4 separate regions of the Homo sapiens genome follow, and all the other regions are linked to region 1. Evidence: promoter capture Hi-C in human tissues and cell types (Jung and others, 2019). All regions are on one chromosome and are shown on one strand. The core of a region is centred on a gene start or on the middle of the fragment in contact, and the rest is flanking DNA. Distances in the headings are between cores, read along the strand shown. Region 1 holds the start of TLE2 (TLE family member 2, transcriptional corepressor). Region 2 holds the start of TIMM13 (translocase of inner mitochondrial membrane 13). Region 3 holds the start of AMH (anti-Mullerian hormone). Region 4 holds the start of CACTIN (cactin, spliceosome C complex subunit).

Evidence for each region. Contacts are between HindIII fragments. The study calls those that stand out against the background at their distance.
Region 2: the fragment with the promoter of TIMM13 here is called in contact with the fragment with the promoter of TLE2 in region 1 in 1 of the 25 tissues and cell types used here (dorsolateral prefrontal cortex).
Region 3: a contact is called between the fragment with the promoter of AMH here and the fragment with the promoter of TLE2 in region 1, in 1 of the 25 tissues and cell types used here (dorsolateral prefrontal cortex).
Region 4: a contact is called between the fragment with the promoter of CACTIN here and the fragment with the promoter of TLE2 in region 1, in 2 of the 25 tissues and cell types used here (heart right ventricle and small bowel).

Annotation. Positions count from the first base shown.
Region 1 is chr19:3,026,175-3,032,047 of GRCh38, forward strand. TLE2 (TLE family member 2, transcriptional corepressor) reads right to left here and starts at 3,106. Exons shown (of 20, transcript NM_003260.5): 1 at 2,707-3,106; 2 at 2,532-2,629; 3 at 2,145-2,208; 4 at 1,655-1,699. The coding sequence starts at 2,730. The HindIII fragment of the contact is 30,131 bases long and covers 75-5,873 here.
Region 2 is chr19:2,426,336-2,432,352 of GRCh38, forward strand. TIMM13 (translocase of inner mitochondrial membrane 13) reads right to left here and starts at 1,251. Exons shown (of 3, transcript NM_012458.4): 1 at 1,079-1,251; 2 at 921-989; 3 at 1-711. The coding sequence starts at 1,198. The coding sequence ends at 613. It overlaps LMNB2 (lamin B2), which reads right to left. Exons shown (of 12, transcript NM_032737.4): 10 at 5,448-5,567; 11 at 5,213-5,323; 12 at 1,831-4,617. The coding sequence ends at 4,576. RefSeq lists enhancers at 1-741, 742-1,487, 1,572-1,721 and a silencer at 932-1,021. The HindIII fragment of the contact is 21,330 bases long and covers 1-6,017 here.
Region 3 is chr19:2,244,643-2,250,572 of GRCh38, forward strand. AMH (anti-Mullerian hormone) reads left to right here and starts at 4,681. Exons shown (of 5, transcript NM_000479.5): 1 at 4,681-5,102; 2 at 5,695-5,837. The coding sequence starts at 4,691. It overlaps SF3A2 (splicing factor 3a subunit 2), which reads left to right. Exons shown (of 9, transcript NM_007165.5): 4 at 91-137; 5 at 804-913; 6 at 2,111-2,160; 7 at 2,240-2,380; 8 at 2,952-3,020; 9 at 3,125-4,013. The coding sequence ends at 3,904. RefSeq lists enhancers at 938-1,438, 1,692-2,769, 2,068-2,569, 4,624-4,763 and promoters at 1,692-4,690, 2,625-4,659, 4,411-4,690, 4,481-4,690, 4,659-4,690. The HindIII fragment of the contact is 11,600 bases long and covers 1-5,930 here.
Region 4 is chr19:3,623,060-3,629,219 of GRCh38, forward strand. It overlaps CACTIN (cactin, spliceosome C complex subunit), which reads right to left and starts at 3,731. Exons shown (of 10, transcript NM_001080543.2): 1 at 3,537-3,731; 2 at 629-1,103. The coding sequence starts at 3,703. RefSeq lists enhancers at 892-1,393, 2,120-2,681, 2,682-3,243, 3,244-3,805, 3,695-4,064 and 1 more. The HindIII fragment of the contact is 17,013 bases long and covers 174-6,160 here.

The sequences.
Region 1 (5,873 bases), core at 1,856-4,355:
GGTGGCTCACTCCTGTAATCCCAGCACTTTGGGAGGCCGAGGCAGGTGGATCACCTGAGGTCAGGAGTTCAAGACCAGCCTGGCCAACATGGAGAAACCCCGTCTCTACTAAAAATACAAAATATTAGCCAGGCATGGTAGCAGGCGCCTGTAATCCCAGCTCCTCGGGAGGCTGAGGCAGGAGAGGCGCTTGCACTCAGGAGGCAGAGGTTGCAGTGAGCCAAGATCAGGTCATTGCACTCCAGCCTGGGCAACAAGAGTGAAACTTTGTCTCAAAATTTAAAAAAAAAAAAAAAAAAAAAAAATCTTTAGGTCTATCTCAGAACCTTGAGATCAGAAGTTCGGGAATAGCCTCAGAACCTTTTAACACATCTCAGCACATAGATATGATAATCGCAGAACCCTGAGGTCTATCTCTGAACCCTGAGGTCAATCTCAGAACCCTGAGGTCTATCTCTGAACCCTGTCTATCTCAGAACCCTGAGGTCTATCTCTGAACCCTGATGTCTATCTCAGAACCCTGAGGTCTATCTCTGAACCTTGAGATCACAAGTTCAGGAACACCTCAGAACCTTTTAACACATCTCAGTACACAGATAGGACAATCTCAGAACCCTGAGGTTTATCTCTGACCCTTGAGGTCTATCTCTGAACCCTGAGGTCTATCTCAGAACCTTGAGGTCTATCTCAGAACTCTGAGGTCTATCTCTGACCCTTGAGGTCTATCTCTGAACCCTGAGGTCTATCTCAGGACCTTGAGGTCTATCTCAGAACCCTGAGGTCAATTTCAGAAATTTGAGGTCTATCTCAGAACCCTGAGGTCAATCTCAGAGCCCTGAGGTCTATCTCAGAACCTTGAGGTCTATCTCAGAAAACTGAGGTCAATCTCAGAACCGTGAGGTCTATCTCAGAACACTGAGGTCAATCTCAGAACCCTGAGGTCTATCTCTGAACCTTGAGGTCAATCTCAGAACCCTGAGGTCTATTTCAGAACCCTGAAGTCTGTCTCAGAACCTTGGATCACACTGAGAAGCTCCAGAAGAGGCTCAGAGCCTTACGACACTGGAGTCAATCTCAAAGCCCTGAAGACAGCCACAGAGTTTTGAGGTCTATTTTGGAGTAGTGGGGTCACAGTCTGAACCATGGCATCAAATTCAGGGCCTGGAGAACAATCTTGGAACCTTCCAGCCAATCACACTGAGACCAATCTCAGAAGCTTCAAAGCAGCAACAGAACCTGGGGTCCATCTCAAAACTTCAGACTTTCTGGGTTGAAAGGGACCTCTAAGAGTGGCCATCCAGCTCCCTCCTAGGACAGAAGTCACTTCCACAGCCTCCCTGGCCTGGCTGCCCTGCCTCTGCTATGTGCCCTCCTTGATGGGGATGCCTGGTGGCCCCTGCCCACTGCCTGCATCTCTGCTGGACGCTCCAACTGCTAGATACTGTCTTCAGAAGGTGGGACTCATTTTCCTTCCACGAGGCTGAAATCTGTCTTCCTGGTCCCAGATGGGCCCTCTGTGACCTCTGCGGAGATTTCAGGATGAGACCCGTGTTCCCTAGGTCTGCTCTGGCCCCGGCTGCCCACTCTGGGTCCTTCTCAGGGCTTCCAGACCCCCACCCTCCCTCCTGAACACGCGTAACCCCAACCCAGTTACCTGCTTATGCATTTCAATGTTGAGCCCGTACGACATCTCATAATACTGCAAAGGAAAAACCAAGTAAGAACGTCTAGGGTGGAGATGGGTGCCCTCCTCCAGATAGGTGATGCCAGGGTCTTCCAAGAGTCCCCAGGTTCAGGGGAATCACAGCAGGAAGCAGAGCCCCCCCCAGCTCCACGGGGTCCCAGAGGAGGAAGCGGGGGCTCTGCCTGGAAGGGCCCCCTCTACTCTCCCCAGAGAGGCAGGGCAGGTAGGAAGTGTCCAGAGGCCCTGGCCCGACAGAGACTCCCATCAGGCGAGGGGTCCTCCCTGTCTCCCCATTCCCAGAGCTGGGAGGACCCTCCTAGAGAGCCTGAAATCCCAACCTGCCCAATGTACAGACGGGGAAGACGAGGTTCGGAGTGGGGCAGGGACCTACCCCAGAGTCCACCGTGACTCAAAGCCCTGCCCGCCTCTCCCCTCACCCTGGCATCATAAGTGCCCTCACCATGACATAATGTCGCTGCATTTCCGTCTTCTCGCTGGCCAGCTTCTCACATTCTAGCTTGAGGCTGAGAAGAAGAGAGAGGGCAAGGGGCTCCCACCCGCCCCATGTGGGCCGGCTTCCAAAGTGAGAGGCTGGATCTCCCCCTCCCGACTTCCTTACAGACCTCCCCCCACCTCCTGTCCCAGTCCCTCCCCGCCCCTTCCTGGGCTCCAAATGCCCCAGCTCTGACTGTCCCCAGACCCCTCTGCACCTGCGCTTCCACCTGGAGGCCTTTGTCGCGCCCCCCCTCCAACCGGGAGCCCCTCCTCCCCGCCCTATACCCCGGAGGCCTCGCCCCGCCCCGGCGCCCAGGTGAACTCCCGCGGCCCCTGGGGCGGCCCCCCTCACCTGTGGTATTGAGCCTGAAGAAACTGGAATTCTTCTTTGATGCGGTCGCAGATCTCCAAGATCGAGAACTTGAAGGGCTGGCCGGACTGGAGCGGGGTCTGGGGGGGGTGTGGGGGAAACGTCAGGGTCTGAGTTCCCGGACACTGGGGGCCCCCTCCCCGCAGTCCGCACTCACCGGGTGCCTTCCCTGGGGGTACATCCTGCCGATCCGAAAAGCCCCCCAGGCGCCACCAGAGCTTGATGATATGGAGGCGGCAAGAGTGGGGGAGGCTGAAGTGGGGTGGTGGGGAGGCTGCCCGAAGAAAGAGGGAGGAGGGAGAAGCGGCGCGGGGCAAGGGACCCTGGAGTCCCTGGCGCGCCCCCAAGCGCGCGCGCCCGGGGTCGTGGGAGCCCCTCCCCGGGTTGGGGTGCGCGGGGCGAGCGGGGCGGGCAGGGGCAGCGGCCGGGGCGGGAGCGCGGCGAGGGCGGCCGCGGCAGCCGGCGCAGAAGGTCGGGCGCGCCGCGGCCGGGTTTCGGTGGCGGCGGCGCGGGCGGCGGGCCCCGCGCGGAGCCGCCTCCCTCCGGCGGGGCTCGGCCGGGAGCCGCGGGCTGAGCCGCCTTAAGGTGGCGCCGCCGCCCCCACGCGCCCGCGGCCCGCCCCGCGCCCACCCCCGCGCACCGCCCCTCCCCGCGCCCGCGCCCCCCCCGGCCCCCGGGCACCCGCCCCCTTCCTTCAGTCCCTGGGCCGTTGGGGAAACTGAGGCCGGGTGGGGAGGCGCCCAGTGCCTTAAAACAGGGTCCCCACCCCCTCCCGGAGGGGCGGGAGAAGAAAAACCAGTGAAGAAATTCACACCGTGTTACCCACCGTGGGAGCGGGGGGGGGGGCTTGCGGGGAGCGGGGACCAGTCTGGAGTCGGAAATGGCTTTTCTGAGCAAGTGACATTGGGTTGAGATTGAAGGGTCAGCAGGACGCAGCCTTGCCAAGCGCTGGCAGGGAACCCTGCCAGAAAGGGAATCTCACAGCAAACACTGCTTCCCAGATCATGCCGGGCCCTCGCCCTCTGGGGGCCTCAGTAGTCTCTGCAAAAGGTCAGGGGTGGTGCGCTATCTTTAGGGTTTAATTTTTTGCAGAGATAGGGTCTCCCTGTGTTGCCCAGGCTGGAGTACAGTGGGGCAATCATGGCTCACTGCAGCCTCGAACTCCTGGGCTCAAGCGATCCTTCCCCCTCAGCTTCTCCAGTAGCTGGGACTACAGGTGTGCACCACCACGCCCAGCTAATTTTTTAATTTTTTGCAGAGATGGAGTAGGGGGGCGTCTCACTATGTTGCCCAGGCTGGTCTTGAACTCCTGGACTCAAGCCTCTCTCTTCGGCCTTCCAAAGTGCTGGGATTACGGGCGGGAGCCACCGCACTGGGCACTGCACTTAAATGAGATAGTGCATGAACGCTGTCAGCCTCTCCCTACACAGAGCAAACTTCCACAGATGGGAATTGTGTTCCTACTGCCATCACCAGTGGACTGGGCTGTCTCCCCTCTCAGACTGGGTTTCTTGAAGGCAGGAGCCGTGTCCCACTCAGAACTGGAAGAACCACAGCTCTGCCATCAGACTCAAGTCTCTCCCACGGCAAAGGCTCCAGCCCCGACCAGAGACCACAGACATCCAGCCAGCATCCTTCAGGCCCACCCGGGGAGTGGGAAGTTCTTATTCTCTTTGGAGAAACCTCAGGAGAGGTTTGTGAAGTCAATCAACAAACGTGTACTAAATGCATACTGTGGACCACACACTGCTGTAGACACTGGGGCACAGCTGGGAACAAAACAGAGAAAAATCCATGCCCCTTGATGACACTTGGACTTGTGTCCTTAGGTGATCGAGTACCTAATGGTACCTAAGGGTTAGGGTTACAAAAACCCATTTTGTACCCTTACAAAAGGGCACAAGAGCCCTTATCAATGGGCCAGGGGTGGTGGGTCATGCCTGTAGCTCCAGCACTTTGGGAAGCTGAGGAGGGAGGATCGCTTGAGCCCAGGAGTTCAAGACCAGTGTGGACAACACCGCGACAATACAAAAAAACATTTTTGTGTTTTTTGTATCTCTACAAAAAATACAAAAATAATTAGCCAGGCATGGTGATGCACACCTGTGGTCCCGGCTACTTGGGGGGCTGAGGCGGGAGATACCTGAGCCCCAGAAGGTCAAGGCTGCACTGAGTTGAGATCACATCACTGCACTCCAGCCTGGGTGACAGAGCAGGACCTTGTCTCAAAAAAAAAAAAAAAAAGCCCTTATCAAATTTAAAGCCATCGTTTTCCAGCCCACAGATATTTACAGAGCACCTATGACGTGTCAGGCATCCTTCCAGGCACAGGGATTGTAAGGGTGGATAAGGGAGACAGATCCCTGCCCTCTCTGAGTTTGTGGGATGTGAGTGACAGGCTAGGCAGGTTCACAGCTTGGTAATTATGGGACTATTTGTACAGACAGAGGAAGAGTTTAGAGGGCAGTGATAGAGATGAACAAAAGCAAACCTGCTTATGTGGGGTGTCTGGGAGAGGACCCTTGGGGGAGGGTAGCCTTGGAGATGAGACCTGAACGATGAGGTTGGGCAGCTCTGGGAAGGGAGGAAAAGAGACACAGCCTGGGATAAAGATACAATTGTGTGTGTGTGTGTGTGTGTGTGTGTGTGTGTGTGTGTGTGTGTAGTACTCACTAGCTCCCTATTGCCCTCAAAATAAATCCAAACTCATCTCTCTTCCCACAAGGCTCTTCACAAAACTCTTCCCCTTTTCCCCTTCACCATCTCTTTATGTTTTGTTTATTGTTTATAGAGACAAGGTCTCACTGTGTTGCCCAGGCTGGTCTTGCATTCCTGGGCTCAATCGATCCTCCCACCTCGGCCTCCCAAAGCACTGAGATTACAGGCATGAGCCACTGCACCCGGCCAGCCAGCTTCATGATCTCAACTCCGGTCATTTTCGCCCTCACTCACTCTGCCCAAGTCACACTGGCCTCACACCAGGCACAGTCCAGCCTCAGGGCCATTGCACTTTCTGTTCCCTGTACCTGGAATGCTTTTCCCTTGCTTCTTATCATTCAAGTCTCAGCTCAAAAGCTACCTCCTCAGAACGGCCCCTCCTAGCCACCCATTTCAACAGCTTCTGCCCACCCCGTTATTTTCACACTCTCCATCCTATTCTCCCTCTCTTCCCAGCTCCTACCATAGTGTGTGGCTTTTTGTTTGTTTTTGTTTTTGTTTTTTGAGACGGAGTCTTGCTCTGCTGCCCAGGCTGGAGTGCAGTGGCGCGATCTCGGCTCACTGCTGCAACCTATGCCTCCCGGGTTCAAGCGATTCTCCTGCCTC
Region 2 (6,017 bases), core at 1-2,500, 600 kb before region 1:
GAAGCAGGGTCAAAGCAAGCCCTGACAAGGGGAAGGCTGTCCCCCTTAGCCTTTGGGGCAGGGGTGGCAGCAGCAACACATTCCTCGTGACTCAGCAGCCCGGTGGCACTAAGGGGAAAGATGGACTTCTCCCAACCCAGGGGAGGCTGAGACCCTCCGAGCTGGGGTTCCAGGGACACGCGTCACCTCTTCCCAGAGACCCCTCAGGAGGGAAATAAAGAGGTTTCTCTCCGTCCTCCACCAATTTATTTGCCCATCCGCAGGAGGTGACAGCTCCTGTGGTGTCTGACCACCCCCAACTCCGAAGTCCAGACAAGCTGTCCGCCCAGAATATGAGGCTGACTTGGGCACACTAGGGGAATACCCCAAAGGCCTGAAGGAGGTGCCACTGGGCTGCCAGCACTTCAGGAAGGCACAGGGCCCCACACCCCCGAGATCCAAGCTGCACTGGCTGGCAGGGGGCAGGGCGGGGGGTGGCGAGGACACAGTCCCGTGTGTCCCAGCACCGGTGCCACCCTCCTAAGCCCCGGGCAGGCAGTACGTACATGCGGACCCCGCCTCTCAAAGCACGTTTATGGAAATGAACAGGGTGGGGTGGCCCGCGCTCGCCGGTCACATGTTGGCTCGTTCCCGCTGCAGCCGCGAGTTGTAGGCGCGAGACACGGTGTTCCAGGCGTCCATGTAGCGGTCCATGCACATGGCGATGCACTTCTGCGGGAGCGGAGGGGCGCACGGCTCAGCTCGGGACTTCGCGGCCCCGGGGACCGCCCTGACCCCGGCTCCAGGACGCCCGGGCTGCAGACTACGCACGTGCAGTGACCACTCCGTCGCACCTCCCCGTTAGTCTGCGCACGCGCAGACACCTCCCCCCTCGAATCTAGGCCCTCGCGACCCTTGCCCCGAACCTCCGCGGGTCTCACCTGCTCGGAGTTGTCCAGGGAGCCCCCAGGTTTCCCTATACACTTCCGGAAACACTTGTCCGTCATCCTCTGTGGAGACACGCGAGGCTTTAGCCGCGACGTCGGCCCCCAGGGGTGGCCCTGTCGCCCCCAGCGCCCGTCCCCGGCCAGCCCCGCACCTGCAGCAGCTCCTGCGCGTTGGCCACGGCGATCTGCACTTTCACCTGCTCCATTATGAGCCCTGGGTCCAGCTTCCCGCTGCCGGAGCCCCCGAAATCGGAGCCGAAGCCGCCCTCCATGGCTCCGCAAAGTCAACCGGACCGAGGCCGCGTGCGCCGACTCGTAACTAACTGCGCCGGAAGCGGGCCGCCCGGGGCACCACGGGAAACGGAGTCCGCGCGGACGGGGACGGAGGACTACAACTCCCACACGACCGCGCGCGCCCGGGCCATTCAAGGTCGCGCGGGGGGCCCTCCGCTCATGCGGAGGCCTGGACCTGCCGTTACCTACACGAGCTACCCGTGGTTGCGACTCCGCGGGAAGAGGGAGGCCCTGACTTGGCCGGGGAGTAGGGGGGCTACTACGTGCGGCCGAGGCCGATCACTTTGTACTCACGCTCTGCCTCCAGCTCGTCCCGAAGGGCCTGCCGCGCATGCGCACGAGGCACCCGGCGCGTCTATACAGCGTGTTGCCGCCGGGGCGGAGCCCGGTCGCATCACGTGACGAAGAGTCAGCTTGTGCAACAGCGTCGGAGGCTCACTAGAAAAAAAAGGGCAGGGTCCCATGCATCGCCTGGGTCCTGTTTACACTAGCTACACTAGCCAGTGACCTTTTTCCTTGGGGGTGGAGGGATCTTTCTTAGACATCCGCTTCATTAGGGCAGAGGCCCCGGCTCGAGCTTCCCCTCAGGAATAAACTCAGAGGCAGAACCTAAAATCAAAATGTTTATTGGAGTGTTGTACAAAAAAGTTTCCAGTCATAAAATGTATATTACAAATCATTGGAAAAAAAAAAGAACACATTAGGCATGCATCTTCTTAAAAACCGAATCTCTGAAATGAAAGTCCATGCCAGCCCCAGCTGCAGCCCAGCTCCGTTTTTGCAGGTTGTGCTGTGACGCTCGCTGGACGCAGGGCTTGGAAGAGGCTGCAGGCGGCGACGCCCCAGGACTGAGGAGTCCCTCAGATCTTTAACAAAGAACTGCCGCGTGCAGGCTTCAGACCAACCCCAGCCAAAGCCGCTGGCATGAGGACAGGTGCATGATCGGATTCTGGGTCAGCCCGCAGGCCTCCCGGCTCCTGGGCTCAGCGGGGCAGGCTTCAGCGTTAACCTGGCGCTGTGCACCCCAGAACCCGCGTTGGTCCAGCAGGCGTGGGCCTCCCCCCAGGGCTGGGTGGCGTCTGATGCTTCGCAGGGAGGGCGCTAGGCTTCGAGTCACACGGCACGGGCTTACACAGAGGGATGGTTTCGCATCGTTCTAAGCGGCACACAGCTAAGCGTATTTGGGGACAAATGCAAATTGTTTCCCAGGCCATAAATAACTTTTAAAAATTTGATTTTCTTAGTGTTTCCAAAGACTCAATTCTCAATGAACCTCCAATTACCCACAGGCTGCCCAGTCCACGCTTCTCCCCACCCCCTTCAGCTAAGGGCACCCGCAGTCCTAGGACCACCCCCAGCTCCACCCAAGGCAAATGTAGGGTGGGGGGTTCTGTGGGCCTGGGGCGTGCTGTTTTCAGGACAGGACTGGGCAGCGTCTGGACATGAGGACCTGCGGGTTTTGGGGGGGACTTTGTCCCTGAGCCCAGCCTGCAAGGCTGTCGGCAAATCACAGACCAACTCCAGGATACAGCTTTGCTCCTCCAGAGCCAAAATACATAGGATGTGGCTGAGACCACTGCAGACTCCCCATAGGACAAGATCACCAAGACCCACCCCCAGAACCCTCGCTAGCACGAAGCCCAGCCAGTCGGGTCCGGGTGATTCCTGCTATGAAGGTGGGAAAGAGGACACAGTCTGTCGCCAGCATTCCCACTTCCAGCGGCTGGCAGAGGGTATCCCCGGGGCAGGCAAAGCTCCCTACCAGCCGCCTGACTGGGAGCACAGCGGCGTAGCCTCCAGGAGGAAATGCTTTGGTAAGATGCGCCCCCCTCTATCTACATGGGACCGGGACTTCTGAGAGCAAGGACAGCGAGCAGGGGCTACGTGGAGCAGCGGGTGTTTCTGCTTTGTCGGCCGCTGGCTCCTTCCCGGCCTGGGGCTGGGGCCCCCCATTCCTTCCTGCCACAGGCAGGTCCCCAGGGAGGCGGGATGCAGTCACAGGGGAGCGGTGCCGCCCCCGCCCTGCAGTGAACGCCATGGCCCGGAGACGGCGCGTGCCCATGGCTCAGTTTTGGTGTCTTTAAGACTTGAGCTGCACTTTCTGAAGGAGGCTCTGCCGTCGGAGGGTGCCCCAGCCCCACGCCACCCCGGGGAGGAGGGTCAGCCTGTCCTCAAGGCCCTGGCGTGAGCTCCTGACCTGTGTACTGACCAATGTAAAAAAATAAATATCCATTAAAAAAATAACTTCTGTGTATCTATGAGGGAGGGTGTAAACGGTGAGCTATTGCCGAAGGGGGGTGCCAGGCATTGGGAAGCTGGACTGAGGGGCTTGGGTGCGTCGTGATAGGAGTCAGGTGGCCTTGGCCTGTCTGAGAAACATGGTTTCAGCGAGAAAATCACAGATAAAAGCACAGTATGGATAGACGCATGTGTATATATAGGCACAGGGCAGACGGAGCTGGAACACGGGAGGGGCTCCACAGCGCTCTCCTCCAGAGGGTCAACATGGTGGCGTTCCCTGCAGACAGCTGTTCTGAAACTCACAGCTTCTGCCTCCAAGGCAACCAGATGTGTCCCCTCCACATCTCCCCTCCCTGCTTATTGTTGTGACAGGTCTTACGACGGGACTGTCCTCATTCTTCCTTCCCCAGGTCTTCCCCTCCCCTGCCCTGTTGGCCTTGCACAGTCAGGAACTGAACTGCGGGAAAACTCCCCCAAATAAAGTCAACGGTCCGAGAAACCCGGCCGGTGCGCTGCCAGAACGGGAATCTGGAAGCCCAGGCAGCGGAGTGAAAACCCGCCCTGGGGGCCACGCCATCCCCATGCTGGCCCACACCCGCTGCGTGGCTGCCTGAGGAGTTCCCGCTGTCCGAAGCTGGGCAGCCAGAATGCAGGCTTGGCCCCGGGCCCCACCAGGTCGACGCCTGGATTCTGAATTTGGTTTTGTAGAAAGCCTTAAAAAAACCCACCACCACTGAATTCCTACGCAGTTTCCGCGCTCCGTCCGCAGCAGGGCCGTCTCCTGTCCCCTCGCTAGCCTCGCCGGCCCTCCTCCCTCCAAGCCCAAGCATCTTCTAAACCTCCGGGTCCTGGCCCTGGGCTTCCAATTTGACCAAATGGTGAGATGAGGAGTGGGGTGGGATTGAAAAGTCTCCGGGGCAGCGGCGAAGTGGCAGCGAAGTGAGGCTGGAGGAGACCCGCCAGGAGGGAGGGCTGGGGGAGACCCACCCACACGTTCTGGCAGTTCGCTTAGAAATTCTCTAGAAATGTATCAAGAACTAAAGAAAGCCAATGATATAAAAATAGTTTTCAGTGGCTCTGGGTAAAGAAAGGTGTGTGGATGAGGAGTGTGGGTTCACATCACGTAGCAGCCTCTTGAGGTGGTCCTCGGGTCCCCCTGCAGGAAGGAAGGAAGGAAGGTCGGCCATGATCAGGGCCAGCCTGGAGGCAGCCGGCAGGTAGATGGCTGCCCCCACCTCCCCACCAGGGAGGGGCTGAGCAACAACAGTGTCTATTTCTAGAGCCTTCCATTCCACTTCCATGTCCCCATGAGCCCGCCTGTGAGCTACACATTCTGTTCTGGGTTCCAAAACAGTCACAGGAACTTGCGACGCACGCGTTTAATGCAGCTGTGGTTTCTGCACTCATCTTCTCCCCAGAAGCCAGTATTGAAGGGACCTGTGTCTTCGACTGAGGAAGCCGGTTGACCAGAGAGCATTTGGGGAGCTGTTCAACACCCACCTCTCAGGGGACCCCCTGGCCAGCTACCCTGAGGTCTGTGATGTCGCAAATTCACACGATGGGCACGACCCAGGAGGCAAGAACAGGTCTCTGCCGTGCTGGTAACAGCCAAGGCTGGCTTCACCCTGAGCCACGGCAGCCAGATGGAGCTCCCGTCGGGGATGCGGCCAGCACGCATGTGTATGTGTGTGCACGAGCTCACTCTGCCCCAGAGGCTGCCCCCCAGCCGCAAGTGGGCACAGGGGTCCTACCTGTTGGTGGAAAAGATCCTCCTCGCCAAACTCGGCTTCCTCCTCCTCTTCCTCCCCATTCTCATTCTCACGCATCACCGAGGACTTCTTCACAGTCCTCATGGCCACTTCCTGTGCGGGACAGGACACGGCGGCATGTCCCGGGATCGGGCCCAGAGCTGCTGTGGCGGCCCCGAGGGTGCCCAGACCCTGCCCAGGACTCCAGCCGAGCACCCCCCAAGCCACACACACCCACCTCGCCATCCGCGTTAACCAGGACGGTGCGGAAGCTCTCGCCCGTGCCCCAGCTGCTCTGGCCCTTCCACACCAGCGTCGAGGGGGGGCTGTGGGCCACCCCCGCACCAGCTGCCCACACCTGAGGACCCAATAACAATGGCCCCATCAGGGTCACCTCTGGTTCCAGGGACGTGGGCCAGCCAGTGGCCCCTACCACAAAGCCCCCTTCAATGCCCTGGGCGTTCAGTCCTTCCAGCCCGACGCAGGCTTATCCAGGGTGATGGTCCCCAGGATACACAAGAAGAGACCAGGGTTCACAGAGGCCAAGGGCTCTTGGCAAGCAGGGGCTGAACTGGGATCTGACACCCACCAGGCTCCATGGCCCATGCGCCTGACTGTTAACACTTCACGGGGACGCCTGCCAGCCCCAGCAGCCTGGACTCAGACCCAGGGCACACCACTCAGGCTCCAGGGAGGCCCAGTGGGGTGACACCAGCACATGGAGGTTCTATGACTGCGGCAGCCGCTCTGAGACGGTGCCTGGTGCCACCATCATCCCCACCCACCCCCGCCAAGTCCTGTGCCTCCA
Region 3 (5,930 bases), core at 3,431-5,930, 780 kb before region 1:
CTCGCGGCGGGCTGAGTGGCTGACGTCAGGGGGACCTGCCTGTGTCTGTCCGCCCGGCCTCGAGTCATGCGTGTTTCCTTTCCACTCCAGGGGAGCTACCTGGCACATACGCAGGGGAAGAAGCACCAGACCAACCTGTGAGTACCTCATGTCCCTTTGATGCCTGGTGCTCCAGCAGCCGTTGGCTCAAGTCTCTGTGAGCCTCGCGGGCCACTGCTCCACAGCCGGGGAGCCAGCCTGGCCTGAGCCTCCCTGGGCGCTTGAGTACGGTTCCTGGGGAGCATTAGAGAACAGAGGCATGGATGGCTGAGGCGGGCAGATCACTTGAGGTCAGGAGTTCGAGACCAGCCTGGCCAACATTGTGAAACTCCATCTCTACTAAAAATACAAAAATTAGGCCAGGCATGGTGGCACACGTCTGTAATCACAGCTACTATGGAGGCTGAGGCAGGAGAATCTTGAATCTGGGAGGCAGAGATTGCAGTGAACCAAGGTGCTGCCACTGTACTCCATCCTGGGCGACAGAGTGAGACTCTTGTCTTATTAAAAAAAAAAAAAAAGAGCAGAGGCATGGAGTTGTTGGAAGGGCCCCAGCCAGGGACAGTGAGGAGCATGACAGGAAGAGAACATGCCTGTCCTATCCCTGTCCTCAGCCAAACCCCAGGGCCCCTCCCAGGCCCCTGGCCCTCCTCATCTCTCAGCTTGTAGTGAGCTCCAAGGTCAGGGGGCTCCTGGCACCTGGGCCCATGGCTTTGGTGCCTGTGTGTGGAGGGGTCCCAGCAGCACCTCCATCCTGTCCGCAGGGCCCGGCGAGCAGCCAAGGAGGCCAAGGAGGCCCCTGCCCAGCCCGCGCCTGAGAAGGTCAAGGTGGAGGTGAAGAAGTTTGTGAAGATCGGCCGCCCGGGCTACAAAGGTGAGTCTGCCCGCAGCGGGGCCGGCCACAGCCGCTGCCGTGACATAAGTGTGTTCTTTAGTCTCCAGTGCGGGAGGTGCAGCCCTGATAGCCTCCTCCCTGAGCCACTGTTTTCCGGCCTTGGTGGCCGTCCCTCACCCACCTGCAGCCTCTGGCGTTGTGTCTGGGAGCTGTCAGGCTGGGCCCGATAAGCACCCATCTCACCCAGCAGCCCATTTCCCAGCTGAGCCACAGTCTGTGCCCTCCTGTCCGGGTCTTGTGGAAGCTTCTGGGAATTCTTGCCAAGCAAAAGAGTGGAAGTGGAGGTGTGGTGAGCCCTGGCACATCCCTCCGGTTAACCTTGAAGCCTTTGAAGGAGGACAGGGAGAAGCGGCTGTTAGAGGCAGCTCCTCCCGGACCCTCAGCAGTGGGAATGGCTAGAGGTGACCCCGGTTCAGAAAGCTGGGGAAGTGACCAGGGTGGAAGATAGAGACTTGTGTCCATAGGGTTCAGGAAGGCGGGCACGCTACCCAGCAAGTGTTCTTTACAGAAGGCGGGGACAGCCTGTGTGCCTGGCCTCCAGACAGAAGCCTGCAGGGCAGAGGTCCCGGGGCAGGTGCACCGGGTGGGCGAGGGTGGCTAGAGCGGCAGGCTCCTGGTGGGGAGGCCCTGACAGGTCCTGGGCTTGGGCTCAGGACGGTGAGGCGGCAGAGGGCTTGTGAGTGTGCGTGTCTGAGGCCGCATGGAGAGTGGCCGGGCGGCAGGCAGCCCAGCAGCCATTCTCGGGGTCCAGGCTGCTGAGCTCTGGCGGGAAGGGCATCCTCTCTCGCTCACCGTATACATGGTGTCAGCCCTGTTCAGGCGGCCCCGCTCGAATCCCAGAGCCAGGGTGCCGAGGGCCCCTCCCTACCCAGTGGCCCCAACTCCTGCTGGGTGGTATCCCAGCACCCCTGGTGAAGGGCTCTGGGGATTGGGACAAAGGAGCACCATCCTCGGTCCCTGCCTGAGTGACTCCGCAGGTAGCTCAGCTCTGGCGCACCTGTGCCTTCACCTATACCAGAATCCCAGAGCCTGGGCGGAGATTGTCTAATGGTTGCCAGAGCTGCAGGGCCTCCCCCGGGGTCCCGCTCTCGTTCAGTGGGTGGCATTAGCCTGCCCCAGGTTCCTCAGCTTCGGAGAGGACAAGCAGCCGGGACCTGAGAGCTTTCTGTGTTGCAGTGACCAAGCAGAGAGACTCGGAGATGGGCCAGCAGAGCCTCCTCTTCCAGGTGAGATCAGGGACTTGGGCGTGGGGGGCGGCCAAAGGCACCCAAGAGGCGGCTCTGCCACCCGGCCGTGTCCCTGCAGATTGACTACCCTGAGATCGCCGAGGGCATCATGCCACGTCACCGCTTCATGTCTGCGTACGAGCAGAGGATCGAGCCTCCGGACCGGCGCTGGCAGTACCTGCTCATGGCCGCCGAGCCCTACGAGACCATTGCCTTCAAGGTAGCGTGGCTGCGGGGTTCCCTGGGCCCCCTTGAGATGTGCAAGCCAGAAGGATCTGCATAGGCTGGGCAGGATGCCCCTCCCATCGGGCTTGGGGTCCCCTGGGCCCCCCCCAAGTCGGAGCCAGAAGGGTCTGCACAGGCCGGGCAGGGCACCTCTCCCATTGGGCTCTGCAGGAGGGCCTGCTTGGGCTCCACTGGGCCAATGAGAAGGGAGGCCGGCAGGGCTGAGCGCCAGGCCTGTGAGGCCTTTGCCAAGTGACCTCACTTCCTGGGCCAGGCTGCTGGAGGGCTTCCTACAGCCTGTCCCCATGCCTGGACAGGGCGGCCATCAGGAAACAAATAATACAAACGGTGACTGCCCAGGGAGGGGGCCAACAGCGTGCTAGCATTGAGGCCAGGTCTGTTTCACTCCAGAACTGAACCCTGTGCCCCACGAAAGTCTTACCAGCCTTCTCCTGGGCTCCCAGGGTAGAGTCCGGGCTGGGGAGGCTAGTGCCTCGGGCTCCCTGCCTGATGGTCGCCCTGAGGTCACAGGGACCAGGAGCCCTCTCTGTCCCCCGCCCTCCCAGGTGCCGAGCAGAGAGATCGACAAGGCGGAGGGCAAGTTCTGGACACACTGGAACCGGGAGACCAAGCAGGTGAGTGGCTCGCCCCGAGCCTGGCTCCTTCCCACCCAGCCCTGGCGGCCCTAGCCCTGCCCTAGCCCCACCCGTGCCTGCTGAACCTTTCTCCGTCTCTCTAGTTCTTCCTCCAGTTCCACTTTAAGATGGAGAAGCCCCCGGCTCCACCCAGCCTCCCTGCTGGCCCCCCTGGGGTGAAGCGGCCTCCACCCCCGCTGATGAACGGTCTGCCCCCTCGGCCACCGCTGCCTGAGTCTTTGCCACCGCCCCCGCCAGGAGGCCTGCCTCTGCCACCCATGCCCCCCACAGGGCCTGCGCCCTCAGGGCCCCCGGGACCACCCCAGCTACCCCCGCCAGCTCCAGGGGTCCACCCCCCGGCCCCAGTGGTGCATCCCCCTGCATCTGGGGTCCATCCCCCAGCTCCTGGCGTCCACCCCCCAGCTCCTGGCGTCCATCCCCCAGCCCCTGGGGTCCACCCACCAACCTCTGGGGTCCACCCCCCAGCTCCTGGAGTCCACCCTCCAGCCCCCGGGGTTCACCCACCAGCCCCCGGAGTCCACCCACCAGCCCCTGGGGTTCACCCACCAGCCCCAGGGGTCCATCCTCCCCCATCAGCGGGGGTTCACCCCCAGGCCCCGGGGGTGCACCCAGCAGCCCCCGCCGTTCACCCTCAGGCCCCAGGGGTGCACCCACCAGCCCCAGGGATGCACCCTCAGGCCCCGGGGGTCCACCCCCAACCTCCCGGGGTCCATCCGTCGGCTCCTGGGGTCCACCCTCAGCCTCCGGGAGTTCACCCCTCAAATCCTGGGGTGCACCCCCCAACTCCCATGCCCCCAATGCTGAGGCCCCCACTTCCCTCCGAAGGCCCAGGGAACATACCTCCCCCTCCCCCAACCAACTGAGAAGCTGCTCCCTCCCCCAGCAAGCCCAGCGCCAGGTGCTCTTGCCTTTTCCCACTGAGAGAAGGCTGCTCTTTTGTACTGCCCCCCGCTCATTAAACAGCCTCCCCCAGCCCTGAGTGCACTGATGTCCGCAGCGCCGCCCTACTGTGTCAGTGTGTGTGGGAGTGCCAGGCACAGCACCATCCCCCAGTTTGGGCCGACTGGGGAGGGCCTGGGGCCCGCCAGGAGACACCTGTGGGAGGCCTGAGAGATGGCTGTACCTTGGAGATGGCCTGGTGGAGGACAGACCCCACCAGCCAGCTAGGAGGGGATCTGGGGTCCTGTTCTGGGGAGGGAAGAGCAGACTCCACGATATCCTTGGGGTCTCCAGATAGCCCACCAGGGGTGGGGAGGGTGAGCAGGGACAGGGCGCCCCCACTGACTTGGGACCCTCCTCCTCCAGGCCCACACCTCAGCACCCAGGACATCTGGGCCCCCCGCCCCCAGCGCTGTCTAGTTTGGTTGCCTGGCCGTCACTCCCAGCCTGGTTCCCACTCCTGTGTCTTCTGGGGATGGCCCTCAAGGACGGCATGTTGACACATCAGGCCCAGCTCTATCACTGGGGAGGGAGATAGGCTGCCAGGGACAGAAAGGGCTCTTTGAGAAGGCCACTCTGCCTGGAGTGGGGGCGCCGGGCACTGTCCCCCAAGGTCGCGGCAGAGGAGATAGGGGTCTGTCCTGCACAAACACCCCACCTTCCACTCGGCTCACTTAAGGCAGGCAGCCCAGCCCCTGGCAGCACCCACGATGCGGGACCTGCCTCTCACCAGCCTGGCCCTAGTGCTGTCTGCCCTGGGGGCTCTGCTGGGGACTGAGGCCCTCAGAGCAGAGGAGCCAGCTGTGGGCACCAGTGGCCTCATCTTCCGAGAAGACTTGGACTGGCCTCCAGGCAGCCCACAAGAGCCTCTGTGCCTGGTGGCACTGGGCGGGGACAGCAATGGCAGCAGCTCCCCCCTGCGGGTGGTGGGGGCTCTAAGCGCCTATGAGCAGGCCTTCCTGGGGGCCGTGCAGAGGGCCCGCTGGGGCCCCCGAGACCTGGCCACCTTCGGGGTCTGCAACACCGGTGACAGGCAGGCTGCCTTGCCCTCTCTACGGCGGCTGGGGGCCTGGCTGCGGGACCCTGGGGGGCAGCGCCTGGTGGTCCTACACCTGGAGGAAGGTATGTGGGGCCCAGCCCCAAGCTTGGCACCGCCGTCTTCCTTCAGGTGGGCCGGGTCCTCCTAGGGAAGATCAGGGGCTGGCAGAGCCCCCACCCTGGGCAGGGAGGCTGTGGTCTTGTTCCTAGGACTGGGTTGCGGGTCCGTGGCCTGGAAGGTGGGCACCACACTCTGTCCTGTCCCCGAAGCCCAGCTCTTAGACTTGCCCCTGCCTCGGTGCCAGGGAGAGAGCTGCTGCCTTCTCCCCACCCCTGAAGACGACGCAGGGCTCGGGGCCAGTGGAACCCTTCTTCCCACAGCCCCAGCCTGTTCTCAGGGCCGCTGGCCTAAGATACTCCCTGCGGGGAAGGGGCTTCATCGGGCACCCCAACCCAGAGACCCCAGGGCGGCAGCCCCACCCACAGCCTCAGACGCAGCCCCTGCCTGCCCCTGCCGTCACCGCTCCCTGGCTGCAGGAAGGCAGCTAAGAGGGGCACCCTTGTCCCCCGCTTGAGGTCCCCTGCACAGTGGCCAGAGCGGCAGGGACAGATCCCAAAGATTCCCGGGGGGTGTGGCCTTCAATGGCTCAGGCGTCCCCTGCTGTCCCGGCTGCAGTGACCTGGGAGCCAACACCCTCGCTGAGGTTCCAGGAGCCCCCGCCTGGAGGAGCTGGCCCCCCAGAGCTGGCGCTGCTGGTGCTGTACCCTGGGCCTGGCCCTGAGGTCACTGTGACGAGGGCTGGGCTGCCGGGTGCCCAGGTACCAGGGAGTTGCATGGGGCAGTGCCCGGGCCGTGGCGGGGGGCATGGATTTGTTGCAGGGTCTGCAGTACTGAGAACAGCGTAGAACCAG
Region 4 (6,160 bases), core at 2,481-4,980, 600 kb after region 1:
ACTCCATCTTTACAAAAAAATAAAAAATTAGCCGGGCATGGTGGTGGTGCCTGTAGTCCCAGCAAGTCAAAACGCTGAGGTAGGAGGATCGCTTGAGGCCAGGAGGTCAAGGCTGCAGTTAGCCACGATCACGCCACTGCACTCCAGCCTGGGTGACAGAGCGAGACCCTGAGTCAAAAAAGAAAGCTGGCCGGGCGTGGTGGCTCACGCCTGTAATCCCAGCACTTTGGGAGGCCAAGGCGGGTGGATCACAAGGTCAGGAGATCGAGACCATCCTGGCTAACATGGTGAAACCCTGTCTCTACTAAAAATACAAAAAATTAGCCGGGCGTGGTAGCGGGCGCCTGTAGCCCCAGCTACTCAGGAGGCTGAGGCAGGAGAATGGCATGAACCCGGGAGGTGGAGCTTGCAGTGAGCCGAGATCACACCACTTCACTCCAGCCTGGGCGACAGAGCGAGACCCTGTGTCAAAAAAGAAAGCTGATAGCGGCAGAAGCTTGCTTATGCGTGTGTGTGTAAAACCAACTCTTGCACGATCAAGGGCAGGCTGGGAGTGTCTCAAGTGTTGGGGTCTCCAGAAACAGTGGAAATGCTACAGGGACAGAGGCCACCACCCGGCGGGGCCCACCTTATTCCAGATGAAGGTGCCCAGCAGGTTGTTGTCTCCGAAGGGGTTGTCGGTGTTGGTGTAGCCCATGTACTCCTCACCCCAGCCCATCTTCTCCCGCTTCTTGCGCTCCTTGGCCTCCTTCTTGGCCAGCCGCCGTGCGCGCTTCTCCTCGGGCGTCTCGAAGGCCTTCATCAGCTCCTCCTGCTGCTTCCGCTCCTCCCGCAGCCGCAGCCGCTCCTGCAGGCTCTGCTGCTGGCTCAGGGCAGCCGCGGCCGCCCGGGGGCTCTGGGATCGCCCTGGAGACGCGGAGCTGGATGCTGAGGAGCTAGGAGACCACGAGCGTGCGCGCCGTCGCCGGCGAGCCCACTGGCCCCGTGACTGCTCCTCTCCTGAGTCCGACTGAGAGGACCCATCTCTTGAGTGCCACTTGGGCCGCGGGGGGCTCCGGCTTCGCATCCCTGAGCGCTGCCACCGCTCTTCCTCTGAATCTGACCTGCGGAGAGGACCATGGATGCCTGCTCAGTGCCTGCAGCTGTCATCTGCTCCACAGATGCTTACTGGGTGCCCGTGGGGGAGCAGGCACTGTTCTAGGTTCTGGGGACACAGCAGTGACCCAAATACCGATGGCTTCTGCCTTCCTGGGCTCACCCTCTGGTGGGCCCCAACAAGGAAGACATCAACAAATAAACACACCACGCAACACTAGGCAGAGGCAGAAGCCACAAAGAGTAGCAATGCCGAGCACAGGGGCTGGGGCTGCAGGGCCGAGGTCAGAGAGGGGCTCTCTCAGGAGCTGACACTGAGCCAAGGTCTGGAGGGAGTGGGGAGGCAGCGATGGGTGGATTCGGAGGGAGAGTGCTCGAGGCAGAGCAAGAGCGAGGGCCTAGAGGCAGGCACTGACCTGCCACATTCTAAGAACAACAAGGAGGCTGTATGGCTGAGACAGAGTGTGGGGGAGAGGGAGGAGGCGCGGGCAGGGAGGTGGCTGGGGCTGGTGGCGCAGGAATTATAAGGGTACGAACCAGGGGACCCGAACACATTTAGGCTGTCAAGGGAGGGCTTCCTAGATGGAAGTGGTATTTGAACTAGTCCCACAGGATGGACAGGAGTTAACAGAGTAGAGCGCAGGGAATGGAAGATGCACAACCTCAGGGGTGGTTCAGGGGCCTTTAATTTTATTTATTAGAGACAAGGTCTACTAGACACAGAGTCTACTAGAGACAAGGTCTATATTTTTATTTATTAGAGACAGAGTCTCCCTCTGTCACACAGGCTGGAGTGCATGATCAGAGCTCACTGCAGCCTTGACCTCCTGGGCTCAAGCCATCCTCTCGCCTCAGCCTCCTGAGTAGCGGGGACTACAGGCACACACCACCACGCCCAGGTAACTCTTTACATTTTTTTGTACAGAGGGGTCTTGCTATGTTGCCCAGGCTGGTCTTGAACTCCTGGGCTCAGGCAAGCCTCCTGTCTCAGCCTCCCAAAGTGTTGGGATTACAGATGTGAGCCACTGCGCTCAGTCACGTTTAGGGGTCTTTGTACACAGAGAACTGCCAAATATTTTGTTAAATGCTCTACCCATTAAGCTCATGTCAAAAAAATCTAAACTATGTTGAAACCAATCATTGCAGAGCCCTTAAATATTGGCCACAAGTTCAACTGAATTTTCGTGAACATTAATTCTAATTACATATCTAGAGTGGCAAATTATTGTGAATAATTCCAATACCAGAAAATGGTAGGCGAAAAAACACAAAGATGACATTAACAAGACTTATGGGCAGGCGCGGTGGCTCACGCCTGTAATCCCAGCACTTTGGGAGGCCGAGGCGGGCAGATCACTTGAGGCCAGGAGTTCAAGACCTGCCTGGCCAATATGGAGAAATCCCAGCTCTACGAAAAAATTCAAAAATTAGCTGGGTGTGGCAACAAGCACCTGTAACCCCAGCTACCGGGGAGGCTGAGGCTGAAGAATCGCTTGAACCCAGGAGGCAGAGGTAACAGCCGAGATCGTGCCACTGCACCCCAGCCTGGGCGACAGAGCAAGACTCCGTCTCAAAAACAAACAAACAAAAAAACCAACAACCGATGAGTGAACTTGGCCCAGAGCGGGGCAAGACTGGCCTGAGTGTCAGCCACGAAGGGGCTGAGCCAGCACTGGGGCCCCGGTCTGGGAATCAGTCCCTGTCCCCATTTTGGTTTCTCTGTACTGGAGCCGGCTCAAGGCAAATCCGACCAAGTGCCCCATCTCCAGAAGAAAAGGACCATGGGGAAGCTGAGATTCAGGCACTAGGAATCAGCTGTGAGTCCTGCCAGCTGACACCGAGTCTTTTTCCCTCCCACAGCCCACCTCCATTAGCAAATGTTGTCTCCTCTACTTCCAGAATCCCTCTGAAATCTACGCACTTTGCCCGCTGTGGTTGACTACAGCCTCCCTCCCATCGAGACTGCCATCATCTACTGTCTGGACAATTGTGCCGTCCTACTCTGATGCCGCTCCTGCCTACCCCGCTCCATCCCTTCTCCACCTCAAAGCCAGAAAGTATGCAGAGTTAAGTCAGTCCACGTCACTCCCCTACCCAAACTCCTCTCAAGACTCTCCATTTCCCTCCGACTAATAGCCAAGATCTAATGTGCTGAGCACACAGGGCTCGATATGATATGATCTGATCTCTCGTTACCTCCCCGCCGCCTCGCTCACCCGGCTCCGGGCTGTCCCTCCAACCGCCCGGTCCCCTGCCTGGAACGCCTCTCGCCTTCCTTCCGCTGCCAGGTTAATTCCAACCGGTGGTCAATTGTCCCCTTCTCTAGGAAGCCCTCCCCGAGTAAGTCGGGGGTTTCCCGGTTCCCCGGGATCTCCAACCCTCGGTCGGGCGCTCCTGAGGTAGGAGCCGGATCCCCAGCGCTGCTCCCGCAGCGACCCCACCTGCGCTCCCGGCTCCGCCGCCTCCGTCTGCGCCGTCCCTCGTCCTCCCGGCGCCGTCGGTTTCGCCGCCCATGGCTCCTGCTCCGACTTCGGCTCCCGCTCTGACTCTGCCGCCTTCGGCCCCGGCGACCCGCGGACCGCGAGCGCGAGCGTGTGTCCCGACCCATCGGCTGGGCCAGTGGCCGCGGCACCAACACCAATAGCCGAAGCCTGCGCTGGGGGCCTTCCTCGCCCACGGCGCTCTCCAGGCTGCCCCGTTTGCGCCTGAGCCGGGAAAGAGCAACCCATCCCGTCGCCCCAGCCCGCAAGGACTCCGACACCCCAGACTTTCCACTACGTCTGCAAATGTGGACCGCGTGATTGACTCCAGTGGGATTGTTGCCTCCAGGGTGGCGGAGTCTCCTTTCAGGCAGTGCTGGAGGCAGCCCTAGGCGGGTCCCCACGCCTCAGGGGGCCTGAGAAACTGTGGGCGGGGCAAGGGCAAACTAGGAACCTTGTGCAGGGAGGGGCCTGCCGAGGCGAGACCAATAAGAAGCGGGTCTAGGTCGGAAGTAGCGCTTCATTGGCGTGGCCAGGGGCGTGGCCGAGGAGAGGCGTGTCCGGGGAGCGAGGTCCCCGAAAGGCGAGGAACCGGGAAGGTGTTAGGTGCCAGGCAGCTCCAGAGGGCAGAGGGCGGGCGCGGGGACAGAAACTGAAAAGCCTTCTTATGAGAGTCATCGTTATGCTCCACCACCTGCCAATGAACACCTATGTATTTTGGGAGTTAAGCTTTAAAAAAAAACAAAAACTTTGATAACTCCCTGTATTCCCCCATCAACCCATTTTAGAGACGGGGAAACTGAGGCTCAGAGAGGGAAAGTCACTCTTAACACTTGCCTTCTCAACCCAGGCTGCCCAGCTTTGTGGTGTGGGTGCTGGGGACCCGTGGGAGGGTTGTGAGCAGGGTTTGGGGGACTTGCTGTTGAAACAAGTTTGGCGTGGGAGGACGGACTTCAGGGGCAAGGCTGGAGGCCAGAGACCTAGAAGACGCTGATGTCCCATCCTGAGCTCCCCTAGCCCATGGTGGCTGCTACCACCACCCCGTGCAGTTCTAACCACTCGGGGCTGGGAAGGCCTGTTTATGGAGGATGATAGTAATTTAAGCTAACTTTTAAAATATTTATCTTGGCCGGGCACGGTGGCTCACGCCTGTAACCCCAGCACTTTGAGAGGCCGAGGCGGGCGGATCACCTGAGGTCGGGAGTTCAAGACCAGCCTGGCCAATATGGTGAAACCCTATCTCTACTAAATAATACAAAAATTAGCCGGGTGTGGTGGCATGCACCTGTGATCCCAGCTACTTGGGAGGTTGAGGCAGGGAGAATTGCTTGAACCTGGGAGGCGGAGGTCGCAGTGAGCCGAGATCGTGCCACTGCGCTATGGCCTCGGCGATAGAGCAAGACTCCGTCTCAAAAAAAAAAAGAAAATTAAAATGTTTATCTTGAGTGGGGTGCAGTGGCTCATGCCTGTAATCCCAACACTTTGGGAGGCCGTGGCAGGTGGATCTTGAGGTCAGGAGTTCGAGACCAGCCTGTCCAACATGGCGAAACCCCGTCTCTACTAAAAATACAAAAATTAGCTGGGCATGGTGGCATGCTTGTAATTCCAGCTACTCGGGAGGCTGAGGCAGAAGAATCGCTTGAACCCAGGAGGCAGAGGTTCCTGTGAGTTGAGATCGCATCATTGCACTCCAACCTGGGCGACAGAGCAAGTCCCCGTCTCAAATAAATAAATAAATAAATAAATAAATAAATAAAACGTTTATCTTGGAATACAACTTCATAACATCCCCGTAAACGCTGGCTTTGTATGCTTTGCTTGGTGTTAAGGCAAGGATGGAACCTTACAGAGGAAGAAGAGACCATCTCCTGCCGCTCTAGATGATGACCTTGCCGGTCCTGAGATGTGGGTTGTCATGCTGATGGGATGGCCCAAAACAAAGCGAAGGCCTGACCCTGTGCTTCCCAAAATTCAGATGCATCCTTGCAGCACATTAAGAGATCACTTGCATGGGCCGGGCGCGGTGGCTCAGTCCTGTAATCCCAGCACTTTGAGAGGCCAAGGTGGGTGGATCACCTGAGTTCAGGAGTTCGAGACCAGCCTTGTCAACATGGTGAAACCCCACCTCTACTAAAAATACAAAATTTAGCCGGGTGTAGTGCCAGGCACCTGTAGTCCCAGCTACTCAGGAGGCCGAGGAAGAATTGCTTGAACCTGGGAGGCGGAGGTTGCAGTGAGCTGAGATCGTACCATTGCATTCCAGCCTGGGTGACAGAGCGAGACTCCATCTCAAAAAAAAAAAACAAAAAAACAAAAAACAAACTTAAAACAACGAGATCACCTCCATGTTCAGTTTATAAAACAGCTGTGCTGAAACGTTCCAACGGCTCCCTTACAGACAGGATCTTACTTTTTTTTTTTTTTTTTTTTTGAGACATTTTCTTGCTCTGTCGCCCAGGCTGGAGTGCAGGGGCATGATCTCAGCTCACTGCAAACTCTGCCTCCCAGGTTGGAGCAATTCTCTGGCCTCAGCCTCCCGAGTAGCTGGGATTACAGGTGTGAGCCATCACGCCTGGCCAGGATCT